4 separate regions of the Homo sapiens genome follow, and regions 1, 2 and 4 are each linked to region 3. Evidence: promoter capture Hi-C in human tissues and cell types (Jung and others, 2019). All regions are on one chromosome and are shown on one strand. The core of a region is centred on a gene start or on the middle of the fragment in contact, and the rest is flanking DNA. Distances in the headings are between cores, read along the strand shown.

The links. Contacts are between HindIII fragments. The study calls those that stand out against the background at their distance.
Region 1: a contact is called between a fragment that was not itself captured here and the fragment with the promoter of RPS6KA4 in region 3, in 3 of the 25 tissues and cell types used here (adrenal gland, pancreas and spleen).
Region 2: a fragment that was not itself captured here is called in contact with the fragment with the promoter of RPS6KA4 in region 3 in 1 of the 25 tissues and cell types used here (dorsolateral prefrontal cortex).
Region 4: a fragment that was not itself captured here is called in contact with the fragment with the promoter of RPS6KA4 in region 3 in 5 of the 25 tissues and cell types used here (IMR-90 fibroblasts, dorsolateral prefrontal cortex, hippocampus and 2 more).

The regions. Positions count from the first base shown.
Region 1 is chr11:63,932,592-63,935,898 of GRCh38, reverse strand. No RefSeq gene overlaps it. Among named protein-coding and RNA genes, the nearest start is that of NAA40, 4.8 kb to the left of the region's middle. The HindIII fragment of the contact is 5,818 bases long and covers 1-3,307 here.
Region 2 is chr11:64,659,638-64,663,248 of GRCh38, reverse strand. NRXN2 (neurexin 2) reads left to right here. Exons shown (of 23, transcript NM_015080.4): 10 at 2,110-2,496; 11 at 2,714-2,917. Among named protein-coding and RNA genes, the nearest start is that of NRXN2-AS1, 18 kb to the right of the region's middle. RefSeq lists enhancers at 2,561-3,611, 3,553-3,611. The HindIII fragment of the contact is 5,556 bases long and covers 1-3,611 here.
Region 3 is chr11:64,357,743-64,361,043 of GRCh38, reverse strand. RPS6KA4 (ribosomal protein S6 kinase A4) reads right to left here and starts at 1,882. Exons shown (of 17, transcript NM_003942.3): 1 at 1,754-1,882; 2 at 1,595-1,666; 3 at 663-881; 4 at 452-567. The coding sequence starts at 1,808. RefSeq lists enhancers at 487-596, 1,330-1,857 and a silencer at 1,607-2,096. The HindIII fragment of the contact is 21,233 bases long and covers 1-3,301 here.
Region 4 is chr11:64,707,216-64,710,731 of GRCh38, reverse strand. All of the region lies in intron 2 of NRXN2 (neurexin 2), which reads left to right. Among named protein-coding and RNA genes, the nearest start is that of NRXN2, 14 kb to the left of the region's middle. The HindIII fragment of the contact is 7,389 bases long and covers 1-3,516 here.

The DNA.
Region 1 (3,307 bases), core at 123-2,622, 420 kb after region 3:
AGTGAAACCCCATCTCCACTAAAAATACAAAAACTAGCCAGGCGTGATGGCAGGTGCCTATAATCCCAGCTACTCGAGAGGCTGAGGCAGGAGAATTGCTTGAACATGGGAGGCGAAGTTTGCAGTGAGCCGAGATCAGGCCACTGCACTCCAGTCTGGGCGACAGAGCAAGACTCTGTCTCAAAAAAAAAAAAAAAAAAAAAAAGAAGGACAGTGTCCAGAGGCCACTGCTATAATCAAGGCAACAGATGAAGCCTCCACGGTTGAGCAGCGGCAGAGGTGGGAGAAGGGCATTGAAGGTAGAGCCTACAGGACTTGCAGATTTGGTGTGGGGTGTGAGGGAAGGATCAGAGCCAAGCTACTTAGCCTGAGCTGCTAGAAAAATGGAGTGGCTTCAATTGAGATGTGGATGACTTTGAAAGGAGCTGGCTTGAGTATAGGGAAGATCAGGATTCTGTTTTGGCCACATCAGGTCTGAGTGCTTTTTAGACGTTCTGGTGGAGACGTGGGGTAGTCAGAGTTGAACTCAGGAGAGGGGTCCACGCTGGAGATAACAATTTCAGCACAGTCGGTGAATAGATAATATTTAAAGCTGTGAGACTGGCCGGGCATGGTGGCTCACGCCTGTAATCCCAACACTTAGGGAGGCTGAGGCAGACAGATCGTTTGAGGTCAGGAGTTTGAAACCAGTCTGACCAACATGGTAAAACCCCGTCTCTACTAAAGTACAAAAAAACCTTAGCTGGCCATGGTGGCAGGCACCTGTAATCTCAGCTACTCGGGAGACTGAGGCAGAAGAATCGCTTGAACCCAGGAGGCGGAGGTTGCAGTGAGCTGAGACTGCGCCACTGCACTTCAGCCTGGGTAACAGAACGAGACTCCCTCTCAATAATAATAATAATAATAAAATAAATAGAAAAGACAAAATCAAATTTGATTTTTTAAAATAAATAAATTAATAAAACTGTGAGACTGAGGCCGAGTGTGGTGGCTCACGCCTGTAATCCCAGCACTTTGGGAGGCTGAGGTAGACGGGTCCCTTGAGCTCAGGAGCTCAAGACCAGCTTGTGCAACATAGCGAGACCCTGTCTCTACCACAAAAAGAAAAAAAAAAGCTGTGAGACTGGATGAGGCCGTGGAGGGAATGCAGTTAGACTGGAATGAGTGAATCTTTGGCCTGACAGCCCTATTGTGTGGTCAGGAAATTTGTTGTGGTTGCCAGCCCTCTAGGGACCAGGAGAGGGAGCTGAGAGTGGGAGGAGGGTAGCCAGCTGGGAAGAAGGGATATCCAAGCTTATCTTTGAAGAAGGAAGAGGAGGCAAGGAAATTTCTTTTTTTTTTTTTTTTTTTGAGACAGAGTCTCGCTCTGTCGCCAGGCTGGAGTGCAGTGCAGTGGCACAATCTTGGCTCACTGCAACCTCCGTCTCCTGGGTTCAAGCAATTCTCTGCCTCAGCCTTCCCAGTAGCTGGGATTACAGGCACCCGCCACCATGCCTGGCTAATGTTTTTGTATTTTTAGTAGAGACAGGGTTTCACCATCTTGGCCAGGCTGGTATTGAACTCCTGATCTCGTGATCCACCCGCCTCAGCCTCCCAAAGTGCTGGGATTACAGGCATGAGCCACCACGCCCGGCCTAGAAATTTCTTTTCTTGTCTTGTCTTTTTTGAGACGGAGTCTCGCTCTGATGCCCAGGCTGGAGTGCAGTGGTGCAATATCGGCTCACTGCAACCTCCCCTCCCGGGTTCAGCGATTATCCTGCCTCAGCCTCCTGAGTAGCTGGGACTATAGGCATGTGCCACTGTGTCTGGCTAATTTTTGTATCTTTAGTAGAGACAGGGTTTCACCATATTGGTCAGGCTGGTCTCGAACTCCTGACCTCATGATCCACCCACCACAGCCTCCCAAAGTGTTGGGATTACAGGCGTGAGCCACCGCACCCAGCCTAGGCAAGGAAATTTCAACTGACAGAAAAGGATTTGCAGAGCCAGGGCGGTGTGAGGGAGTGGATAAGGTGAGGGATGAGACTCCACCCCCACCTCGGCACAGTCCCCACTGTGTTTTGGTTTTTCTGGTCTCCTTACCTACAGGGAACTTCATGGTCAGCTGTTTCAGTGCACAGATGACTGCCACCACCATCCCCTGTGCCCTGTCCCTTCTGCCATGCCCCACTCTTGGGTTTGCTCCCTGCTCCCCCAGCCTGCTGGAATTTGCTGGAAACCAGGCAAGGCCTGGGAGGTGAGCCCAGTAGTCCTTGGGGGAGGTGACATCATCCAGGCCACCCAAGAGGCCCGAAAAGGCCCAGTGCCCTATTTCTGCCCCAAGGCAGCATCCTTCTGTCTGAGGCCTGCCCTGATTATGGGCCATCTCTCCTGCTCAGGGCTTCCTTGTTCTTGTGGGGTGGTGGACAGAGCCTGCTCTGGAGTTGGACCAACCTGTGTTTAAATCTCCTTTCTGCTACTTGTTGGCCTTGTGACTTTAGGCAAGCTGCCTACTATCTCTGAGACTCAGTTTCCTTATTTGTAAAGTGAGACCACCAGTAGCAATCATCTTCATCTTCAGTAAAATCTTCTTCTAGGGGTGGTTGTGAGAATTAAATAAGATGGGATGGATGGCAAGGCCTGGGGCAGGAATGGAACCCCATACACCCATACAAAAGTATATCAAAGTGGCCAGACGCGGTGGCTCACACCTGTAATCCCAGCACTTTGGGAGGCTGAGGAAGGTGGATTGCCTGAGGCCAGGAGTTTGAGACCAGCCTGGGCAACATGGTGAAACCCCGTCTCTACCAAAAGTATAAAAGTTAGGCCAGGCGCAGTGGCTCATGCCCGTAATCTCAGCACTTTGGGACGCCGAGGCTGGTGGATCACAAGGGTGGATTCGAGACTAGCCTGGCCAATATGGTGAAATCCCATCTCTACTAAAAATACAAAAAGTAGCTGGGCCTGGTGGCAGGTGCCTATAGTCCCAGCTACTCAGGAGGCTGAAGCAGGAGAATCGCTTGAACCCAAAAGGCAGAGGTTGCAGTGGGCCAAGATTGAGCCACTGCACTCCAGCCTGGGCAATAGAGGGAGACTCCATCTCAAAAAAAAAAAAAAAAAAGGGTGAAACCCCGTCTCTACTAAAAATACAAAAATTAGCCCGGCCTGGTGGCGGGCGCCTGTAATCCCGGCTACTCAGGAGGCTGAGGCAGAGAATTGCTTGAACCTGGGAGACAGAGGTTGCAGTGAGCAGAGATCGCACCACCGCACTCCAGCCTGGGCAACAAAGCGAGACTCCATCTAAAAAAAAAAAAAAATTAGCCAGACG
Region 2 (3,611 bases), core at 60-2,559, 300 kb before region 3:
ATTGCAGATGCCCACCATGCCCGGCTAATTTTTGTATTTTTAGTAGAGATGGGGTTTCACCATGTTGGCCAGGCTGGTCTCAAACTCCTGACCTCAGGCGATCCTCCTGCCTCAGCCTCCCAAAGTGCTGGGATTACACGTGTGAGCCATTGCGCCCGGCCTCAGGTGAGGTTTTGAGCAGAGAGGAACACGTCCTGAATGAGGGGATGTGTCTGTAGAGGAGGTCCCAGTTCTTCCCTCTTGGGTTCCCACCCTGTGCTCACATTGATTCTCCTCCCAAAGCTCCCTGCCAAATTCAGGCCTCATGCAGACCCAAACCCTCCTTAACCTCTCTTTAACCCCATGAAGTTAGGCAGAGTCTTTTTTTTTTCTAACTAGGATGTCTGCAATGGGGTCTTGCGTGAGGAGAGAGATTGAACTCAACTCCCACCCTGACCCCTTTTATTTATTTATTTATTTTTTTTTTTGAGACAGAATCTCGCTCTGTCGCCCAGACTGGAGTGCAGTGGCACGATCTTGGCTCACTGCAAGCTCTGCCTCCCGGGTTCACACCATTCTCCTGCCTTAGCCTCCTGAGTATCTGGGACTACAGGCGCCCGCCACCACGCCCAGCTAATTTTTTGTCTTTGTTAGTAGAGACAGGGTTTCACCGTGTTAGCCAGGATGGTCTCGATCTCCTGACCTTGTGATCCACCCGCCTCGGCCTCCCAAAGTGCTGGGATTACAGGCGTGGGCCACTGTGCCCGGCCCCGACCCCTTTTAAACAGTTCTTCCAAACTTGAAAAAGGACAGAGGAAGGAATTTAAAAATACAAGTAGAATAAAATTTCTAAGGTATAGGTTTCTGCAGCTTAAGGTCTCAGTAAAGGCTATGGAACTCCTACCAGATCCCAAGTCTTTTTTCTAAGATAATCACCTCCTCCTCCTTCCTCCTCCTCCTCCTCTTCCTTTTCTTCTTCTCCTTCTTCTCCCTTCTTCTCTTCTTCTTTTTTGAGATGGAGTCTCGCTGTGTCTCCCAGGCTGGAGTGCAGTGGCATGATCTTGGCTCACTGCAGCCTCTGCCTCCCGGGTTCAAGTGATTCTCCTGCCTTAGTCTCCCGAGTAGCTGGGACTACAGGTTTGTGCCAACACACCCGGCTAATTTTTTTTTTTTTTTTTTAGTAGAGATGGAGTTTCACCATGTTGGCCAGACTGGTCTTGAACTCCTGACCTCAAGTGATCCATCCGCCTCGGCCTCCCAAAGTGCTGGGATTACAGGCGTGAACCACCATGCCCGGCCAAGCACCCTCTACTTCTGAAGAACTCTTCTACCTAAAAATTCTGTGCCTACCTCCTTTCTCCTCACTGCTGTCCTGCCCCGCAGGCCCTGGAGCCAATCTGCTTGTGCACCTTGCTGGCCGCAGAGTGGGCTCTTGGCTGAGGGGTGGAGAGTGCAGGCTCTGAGTTCTTGCTGCTGGGACCATACTTTGGCTGTGTTCCTTCCCCACTGTGGCGCTTTGGCACTGTTCCCCAGTCTCTGCAAGCCTCGTCTACCATTTCAAAATGGGATCATAAAGGACTGATTTCGTAGAGTTATTATGAGACTTAAGTGATATAATATATTTAAAGTGCTAGGTGCCTGGCATCTAGTCATAAAAGCTCAATAAATGTTTGTGGGGGGAAAAAACTCCTTTGGATTAAAGATCTTTCAGCCCCTTCTGTTCCTTGAGGTTCTCTGCTTCCGGTTCCCAGTCTAAGGAACTGGCTGGCAGGAATGACCCAGTGAATGATCCAACCCTTTCCGAGCTCAAGATTTCGGCATGCCCACTTCCTGCCTATCCTCTGAGGACTTGCTGAGGTGGGGAGGAGGGGTATGGACAGAGGCCCACAGCATTCTGCAGCTGGGCTGGGGCTGCGTCACAGAAGCCTCTGAGCCTGGGGGCCTTTGTCAAGCAGTTTTTGCAGTGAGTGAGGCCGAGCTTCCAGCCCAGGACTGCTGCTCGTCCTCCTGAGCCTGCTGCAGGGCACAAGGTGGAGGGGCCCACACAAGGTGGGGGGCCTTCTTGGCAGAGTCAGGATGTCCCTTTCTGGCCTGTGGCTTTTCTCCATCCTGCCTTCCCTTGATTCCCAGGCTCCATCTCAGTGAATAGTCGCAGCACGCCGTTCTTGGCCACTGGAGACAGCGAGATTCTGGACCTGGAGAGTGAGCTGTACCTGGGCGGTCTCCCTGAGGGGGGCCGGGTGGACCTGCCCCTGCCCCCAGAGGTGTGGACAGCAGCACTCCGGGCAGGCTACGTGGGCTGTGTGCGGGACCTCTTCATAGATGGGCGTAGCCGAGACCTCCGGGGCCTGGCTGAGGCTCAGGGGGCTGTGGGCGTTGCCCCCTTTTGCTCCCGGGAGACGCTGAAGCAGTGTGCATCTGCCCCCTGTCGCAATGGGGGCGTCTGTCGAGAAGGCTGGAACCGCTTCATCTGTGACTGCATCGGGACCGGCTTTCTTGGGCGGGTCTGTGAGAGAGGTGAGGCTGGTCTTCATCCTAGGTGTCCCTGCTCCCTATCCCTGTGCTCCTCCTTCTCAGGGTGACTCCTACTTTCCATCCCTGTGCCACCTCCTCCTAGGGGAACCCCTCATAGACCTGCCCTAGGCTTTTCGCCCTTGTAATGATTCTCTGGTCTTCTCCCTCCCCTGGCCTCTGCCTGTCTTCTCCTTCCCTCTTCCCCAACTCCTGTGGGCAGAGGCCACGGTCCTGAGCTACGATGGCTCCATGTACATGAAGATCATGCTGCCTAACGCCATGCACACGGAGGCAGAGGATGTGTCCCTGCGTTTCATGTCCCAGCGGGCCTACGGACTCATGATGGCCACCACTTCCAGGGAGTCTGCCGACACCCTACGCCTGGAGCTGGATGGGGGGCAGATGAAGCTCACTGTCAACCTCGGTAACCACCCTGCCCTGTGCTTCCTGACCCCTCACCTGGCCTTGTCTCTGACCCACACCTGCCTCTGTCTGGAGAAGCTGGTGGTGGCACCAGCAAGAGGTGCCCTCAGCAGAGTTTGGAGGTGGGGAGGCGCCAGCCTGGGTCAGAGACCCTGAGAGCTCTGTCCCTGGTGAGGACGCACAGTGTAGGGCGACATTCCATGCTCGACGACACTGTGAGGGGCAAGACCCAGAGTATCTGGGGTATGCTAACTGTCCTCCCTGGTGACTCATGTGGATCTTGGTAGCATCTGTCCTGCACACACACAGATGACACAGCTCATTTTTGGTCAATGGCTCATCCACTTGCTCATTCATTGGTTCATTCATTTGAGAAGCACTTGCTGACGCCTAGTGGGTGCTAAGCCTGAGCTCAGTGTGGTGGCAGATACAGAGATGAGGAAGGCCTGGTCCATGCACGCAGCTGCCCCCCACTGCTCTGCTCAGTCTAAACAGCAGTCTGTGTGTTGGTGTGTGGAGGTGCATGTGTGTACACTGGACACACAGACGTGCCATCTTCCCGTTTCTAGTGCCATGAGCTTTCACATTTGAGCCTCATGGCTGTCCTGTGAAGACACTAGATCACCAAACAAGCATTACTGTCCCTGTTTTATAGATTATGAAATTCATGTATTGACTTGTTCAACATTACAAAA
Region 3 (3,301 bases), core at 633-3,132:
CCCAGAGAAAGTCATCTGCCTGTAGAGGGGGTCTCCAGGGCAGAGCCACTGAATAAGAAAGGCCATTTAAGATATAAAACAAAGAAGGAGGGCCCCGTGGATCAGGCCCCAAGGTCCCAGAGAGAGGAAAGTCTGTGTGAAGAGCTCCATTTCAAGGAGGCCTTAGGAGCCAGGCCGTGAGGTTTCCATTTGAGGAAGTTCTGTGAACGCAGCCCCGAGTTCCCTGAAAGAGGAAAGCCCCTTCGAGGAGGTGCCAGGGGAGGGGACCCCACCAGGCAACGTTGAGGCTTCCTGCAAGGGGTCCAGGGGAAGCAGCTCCAATTCCCACCCAGCTCACCACTGGCCCCCCAGGAAGCCCAGGGGGAAGCCTGAGGCTGCCCTGCGTGCAGATTCCTTCCAAGGCACAGACCCAGTTTCCATAGCAACAGCCTGCGGCCAGGTCTTCACCCACCTTGTGCAGGTGTTCCAGGGCCAGCACGATCTCACCCCCATACACGCGCACCTCAGCCTCCTTGAAGTACTGGCGCTGGTAGAGGTGGGTGAACATCTCCCCGCCGCTCACATAGTCTGGGAGGTGCAGTGGAAGTCAGGAAGCAGCCCCGTCAGGTGGCCTCGCCTGCCCCCAGCCACCCCAACCCCGTTGGGATGTGGTGTGCGCTCACCCAGGATGAGGTGCAGCTTGGCATCCGTCTGGAAAGCGTAGTGCAGCGTGACCAGGAAGGGCGCCTGGCGCACCAGCTCCAGCACCGAGCGCTCGGTGCGCGTGTGCTCTTGCGTCTTGGCGCGCTGCACCAGCGCCGCCTTGCGCAGCACCTTCATGGCGTACAGCTTCCCCGCGTCGTGCCCGCCCGCCTTCCGCACCAGGAACACCTTGCCGTAGGCTGTGGGAGCAGCGAGTGGGTGGAGGGTGGGCTGTGAGCGGGAGATTGGTGCAGGCTTGGGGGGTGGGGGCGATGCCAACCCAGGAGGGTGTGCAAATGAGGCGAAGGAGCTGGGGCAACAGGCAGGTGTGCAAAAAGCTGGCAGAGCCTTCTAAGGAAAGGGTGTGCACACCCCGGGAGGGTGCCCAGCAAAACCAGGGAAAGGATGTGCAAACCAGGCTGGGGAGCATGCATCTCCAGGGGGCCTGCTGCGAGGCATGGGGGCGGGGCATATGCAAACCTGCGAGAGATCAGATGGATGTGAAAAGATGCCAGTGCAAGGAAGGGAGGCAGAGGTGTGCACCTGGCTGGGGAAGGGATGCGCAAACCAGCGCTGGGGCATTTGCAAAATGTGGGAGGGGGATCCCATATTGGAAGAAAGGGAGGAGCTATGCAAATCACTTGAGAGGGGCGCCAGTCCCCCTCCCCAGGGTGTTGGCAAATCCAGGGGGGTATGCACGCACAGGACCGTGGAGGGAGGAGTGATGTCAATGTGGAGTGCCCTGGAAGTGGGCATGCAAACTCTGGCGAGGCAGGGCGGGGCAGGCAAGGCAGGCTGTGCCGGGAAAGGGTGGGGGGCCTGCTCAGTGGCCTGGCCCAGGCCCAAGAGTGAGCAGGCAGGAGGTCAGGGGCACCGCGCCTGGGACGCCTGCCCGGTGGATGGGGGTCCTCACCTCCCGTGCCCAGCACCTTGAGCAGCTCGAAGTTCTCCACGCTCACCTTCTCCTCGTGCCCGGTCAGGTTGGCTGTGGGCACAGGGGGCGAATGAGCCCAGCCGGTCCATGACCCGTCCCGGCCTGCCCCGGGCAGCCGCAGTCAGGCCCCACACCCACCTTCTGTGATCCGCAGCTCCACGGCGCAGCTCTCATCGTCGTCCTCGTCCCCCATGGCGGGCGGGTCGCTGGGGCCCGCGCGGCTCGGGCTCCGGGCGGCGCCGGTTACATGGCGGCTCCGGCCGGGGCGGGCGCTTCCTGGTGCCGCCTCCGGGGCCGAGGCGGGCGCCGGCACCGCCTCCCGGCTCCCCGCCCTGCGCGGCCTGAGTCAGGCGGCTGGAACGTGACAGCGCCGGGCTGCCGGTGGGCGGCCGGCTGGGGCCGCCCTGTCTCCCGAGCCCCCAGGCCAGGCCTCAGGGCCGTGCGCTCCGGGACCTTACTCGACTCTCCCGGGAACTGGAAACACCCCGTGGGAGCCATCCCTGAGCCCGTGGGTAACCTGGAGCCTCTGGGGCATTAGTCCCCAAGCCAGGAATCTGCCCGGGAATGCCGGCTGCAGCCAGTGGCTGGAGGACATTAGGAGTCTGTGCCCCAAGGTGGGGGACGAGGTGCCTGGTGCTGGGCAGGCTGAGAGGGGGTCTGGATCCTGGAAGTCACCCAACTCTCAGGCAGTGGAGCCCACCCCACTCCATCGTCCTGGGGGTGGCCAGCAGGGCCCCTCTCCCCAGAGGACTGGCCTTTGCAAGGAGGAGCCTCATCACCAAGAGGGGGCTGGAGCCCGGCCTGGGACCCCATGGCAAGGAGAGGAGTGGCCAGTTTTCTGACCAGCTTTCTGTCGGGGGTGCCTGCAGAAGCACTTCAGCCCCCAGTCACCGTGCAGAGCCCACCAGGTGCCATGCGCACCTCACGTGTTCTGCTCCTGTTGTCTCCTAGCCTGGTGCAGTACCCAGCTTAGAGCCCTGAGCAGGCCTCAAGAAGAGATGTCAGTGCCACACGGGGCTGCCCCCTCTCCCCATGAGGCCCAGGGCCCCTGCTGACTGGTCCTCCTGAGCCCCTGCTCCGTCTTCTTCCTGCCTTTCCCTTCCTGACCACCAATGGGGCCACCTAGCAGAGTGGGACAGCCATGAGGCCCCACACCCTGAGGCCGGTGGGAGGGGCTCTCAGCTCCTCTGCCAGCTGGAGAGGCCAGGGTGTCCACCCCACGCCCCTGTCCTGTGAAGCCCTGGCTGAGAGGAGGAGGAACTCAAGCTGCTGCAGGTCACACCTGGGAGGCCGGACGGACCGTCCCTCCCAGCTCTGCACCCCCCAAGTTCAGGCTGCCTTATCTCAGCCCTGGGCAGCTCCACCCTCCCCTGGGTGGCCCCAGGTACCCTGACTCACATCCTGCACCCCAGCCGAATTGCCCCGCCTCTCAGGCATCAGGCTAGAGGCCCTGGTCAGAGAGCCAGCGTCCCTCCCACCTCTCCTGGCAACCCCTGGCATTAAGTGATGCCCCGCCAGGCTGAGAACTCCCTGGGGAGGGGGCTCAACCTCAAGGAGGGAGGGGAGATGAGTAGGAGGAGGATGTGAACAGAGAGAAGACAGTGCCCTGGGAGAGGGTGGGGGCGGGGCAACAGGGGCTTCACTGCCCCACACCCCTGAGCCCAGATCTTAGACCCCAATCCCTGC
Region 4 (3,516 bases), core at 777-3,276, 350 kb before region 3:
GCCTCAGTAAGACAGCCGGATTGCATGAGGACTCTTTCTTTCCAGAACCTTAATTTGATCCTCTGGTTCCTCTACCCTTCCCCCAAAGCCTGCCTAAGAAAACAGGATGAATCATCCTCTGATTTGATGGAGGGAAAGCTCGAGCTACGGGAGGTTAGGGTAACCGGTCCCTGGCCTCACTGTGGCTGAATTGGGCTTGGGTGTGTGAAAAATGCAGCCAGAGGCACCTTGGTCAACCAGAGCCTTTGTATCCATTCCCTGAGAGGATTCATTGGCCAGAGGCTTCCAGTGAGGCAAACAAGTGCATGCTTCTGAATACGGGTTGTGTGGTTGTGTGTCTAAGATGTGTTTGAGTAACTGTGTGAGAGGGATGGCTGTGTGTATAATATGGCTTGGTATCAGATGAATGTTTGTGTCAGCTGTGGTGAAGCTGTGAGAGATGGTTGAATATATGTATCTGACCCATTGTGTGTGTGTGTGTCTGTGTGTGTGTGAGAGAGAGTCATGTAAGAAAAAGAAACGTGAGCCAGGTGCAGTGGCTCACGCCTGTAATCCCAGCACTTTGGGAGGCTGAAGCGGGCAGATTACTTGAGGTCGGGAGTTCGAGACCAGCCTGGCCAACATGGTAAAACCCCGTCTCTACTAAAAATACAAAAATCAGCCAGGCATGGTGGCGGGCACTTGTAATCCCCACTGCTTGGGAAGCTGAGGCAGGAGAATTGCTTGAACCTGGGAGGTGTAGGTTGCAGTGAGCTGAGATGGCACCACTGCACTCCAGCCTGGGTGACAAAGTGAGACTCCATCTCAAAAAAAAAAAAAAAAAGGAAGAAGAAAAGGGAAAGTGAGATATAAGGCGGGCGCCAGCTGGTAGGGGCAGGGTTGCTTGTGTATATGTGGAGTGTGTGTGATGTGTGTGTGGTATCTGTTGAGAGAGCAGTGCTTTGTGGTAAAGGGGGAGGGTTGTGTCTTTATTCATTTCTGTATTCCCAGCACCTAATCTGGTACCAGGCACTTAGTGGGTGTTTGATAAAGATTTGTGGAATGAATGGAGAGATATTAATAAGTAATTGAGAGAATAAAGGCTTGAGGCAAAGCTGTATGTACATATGAAAACATGTATGTATATATTTTCAGATATATGTTGTGGGTGGGCATGGGGGTTGTAGGCACTGATTGCATCTGGAGATGACAGGCACAGCAATAACCCTACTGATTCCCTTCTTTTCTCTCCCCACTCTGCAACCTCATTTCTTCTTCTATTTGTTCCTTATTTCCTAGGTAGCTTTTATAATATCTTGTGCTCATTATACTTCGAGTACTTTCTCATCCAGTCAAGGAGGAAAGGCATGGGCTCCCATGGTTGGGTATTGGGGTGAGGAAGGAAGACTTTAAGGGGAGCAGGCCTGGCTCCTGCTCTCTGACACAACTCTAGGGGTCAGAATCCCCAGGCTTCCTTGGAGTTATAATCACTTTATCATCTGTTGTGAATGGTTCCCAACTCTTTCTGAGACTGAGGACTTTTTTTTTTTTTTTTTTTTTTTGAGATGGAGTCTCGCTCTGTGCCTAGGCTGGAGTGCGATGGCACGATCTCAGCTCACTGCAATCTCCACCTCCTGGGCTCAAGCGATTCTCCTGCCTCAGCCTCCTGAGTAGCTGGGATTACAGGCGCCCGCCACTATGTCCAGCTAATTTTTGTATTTTTAGTAGAGACGGGTTTTCACCATGTTGGTCAGGCTGGTCTCGAACTCCCGGCCTCAAGTGATCCGCCCGCATTGGCCTCTCAAAGTGCTGGGATTACAGGTGTGAGCCACTGCGCCTGGCCAACTGAGGACATTTTTAAAAGTCAGTAATTCACAGTACCCCTTCCAGTTATTATTTTTATATCTGTTTAGTGTGAGTATAAATGACTCAAAGCCACTGTGAATTTGGAAAAGCTTTTAGATGACTTTGATATTATATTTGCCATTGTGGTTAATAAAATATACATTAGAAAAATGGTTTTAGCTTTATATGCAAGATGTTTCAATCTGCCTTCAGATGTTTGGTGTGCATACGAATTTGTGTATCCTTTGGAATCCCTCCTGCTCTCCCAGGGTCTGGGCTTACTCATTGACGGAGAACCTCCATGCTAGGAAATTTGCATTTTCTCTCTCTCTCTCAGAGATCTGGCCACACGTAATTGAAGACAGAGCTCAGTGGGAGTGGCTGAGTCTGTCTACCGTTGCTGATTATCTGCCAAAGCTGGGATAGAGTAGACTGGGATCTTGCAGTGGTTTGCATGACAGTGCTTCCTCATGTCACCTGTGTGTGTGGAGAAGGGGCTAAAAAGGGATTAAAGAAGAAGGGATGTGCAGGCATGTGTGTGAGACCTCAGGTGGAGTGATGATGCAGGTGTTCAGGACAGAGTGTCAGGTGTATACTATTTGCTCAGGAGAAAAATAGGAAACTAGTCGTAATGTGTGTGCTTGCAGGGAGGTAGACACACGTGTCTCATGTGTTTTGTGATAGTGATTTAATTCAACAGGTAGTTGCCAAGGCCTCTTTTGTGCTAGGCTGTGTGTTGGGGGCTACAGTGTGGTCAGAGATGAATAAGATGACTCTGTGCTCTGGGAGTTGACTTTTTTTTTTTTTTTGAGACGGAGTTTCGCTCCTGTTGCCCAGGCTGGAGTGCAATGGCACAATCTTGGCTCACCACAACCTCTGCCTTCCGGGTTCAAGCAAAGTGATTCTCCTGCCTCAGCCTCCATAGTAGCTGGGATTATAGGCATGCACCACCACGCCTGGCTAATTTTGTATTTTTAGTAGAGATGGGGTTTCTCCATGTTGGTCAGGCTGGTCTTGAACTCCTGACCTCAGGTGATCCGCCTGCCTTGGCCTCCCAAAGTGTTGGGATTACAGGTGTAAGCCACCACACCCAGTCTGGGAGTTGACTATTAAATTGAGGAAGCAGATAAAAAAGCTGTCCAGTGTGTTGTTAAGAGATTCTGCCTCCAGACTGCCCAGGCAGTGACTTTATACTTAAACTCTCTTTGCCCCCATTTCCTTATCTATAAATGAAGATAATAATGGTACCTACTTTATAGAGTTGTTGTGAAAATTAAATTAGCTAGTTCATGTAAAGTGCTTAGAACAGTGCCTGGTACATAGAAAATGCTCAATACATAGTAGCAAAAAAACAGCACAATAGTGTGTGGCCCAGAGATGCAGTAAAGCAGTGTGGCTTAGTGATTAAACCACAGACTTCTGTGGCTCTGGTCTGGGTTTAAATCTGTCTTCTCTACTCCCTAGGCCCATGACATTAGGTGAGTACCTAACCTTTAGACTCATTTTTCTTTTTTTTTTTTTTTGAGACGGAGTCTCGCTGTCTCCAAGGCTGGAGTACAGTGGCGTGATCTTGCCTCACTGCAAGCTCTGCCTCCCGGGTTCACGCCATTCTCCTGCCTCGTCCTCCTGAGTAGCTGGGACTACAGGCGCCCGCCACCACACCTGGCTAATGTATTTTTAGTAGAGACGGGG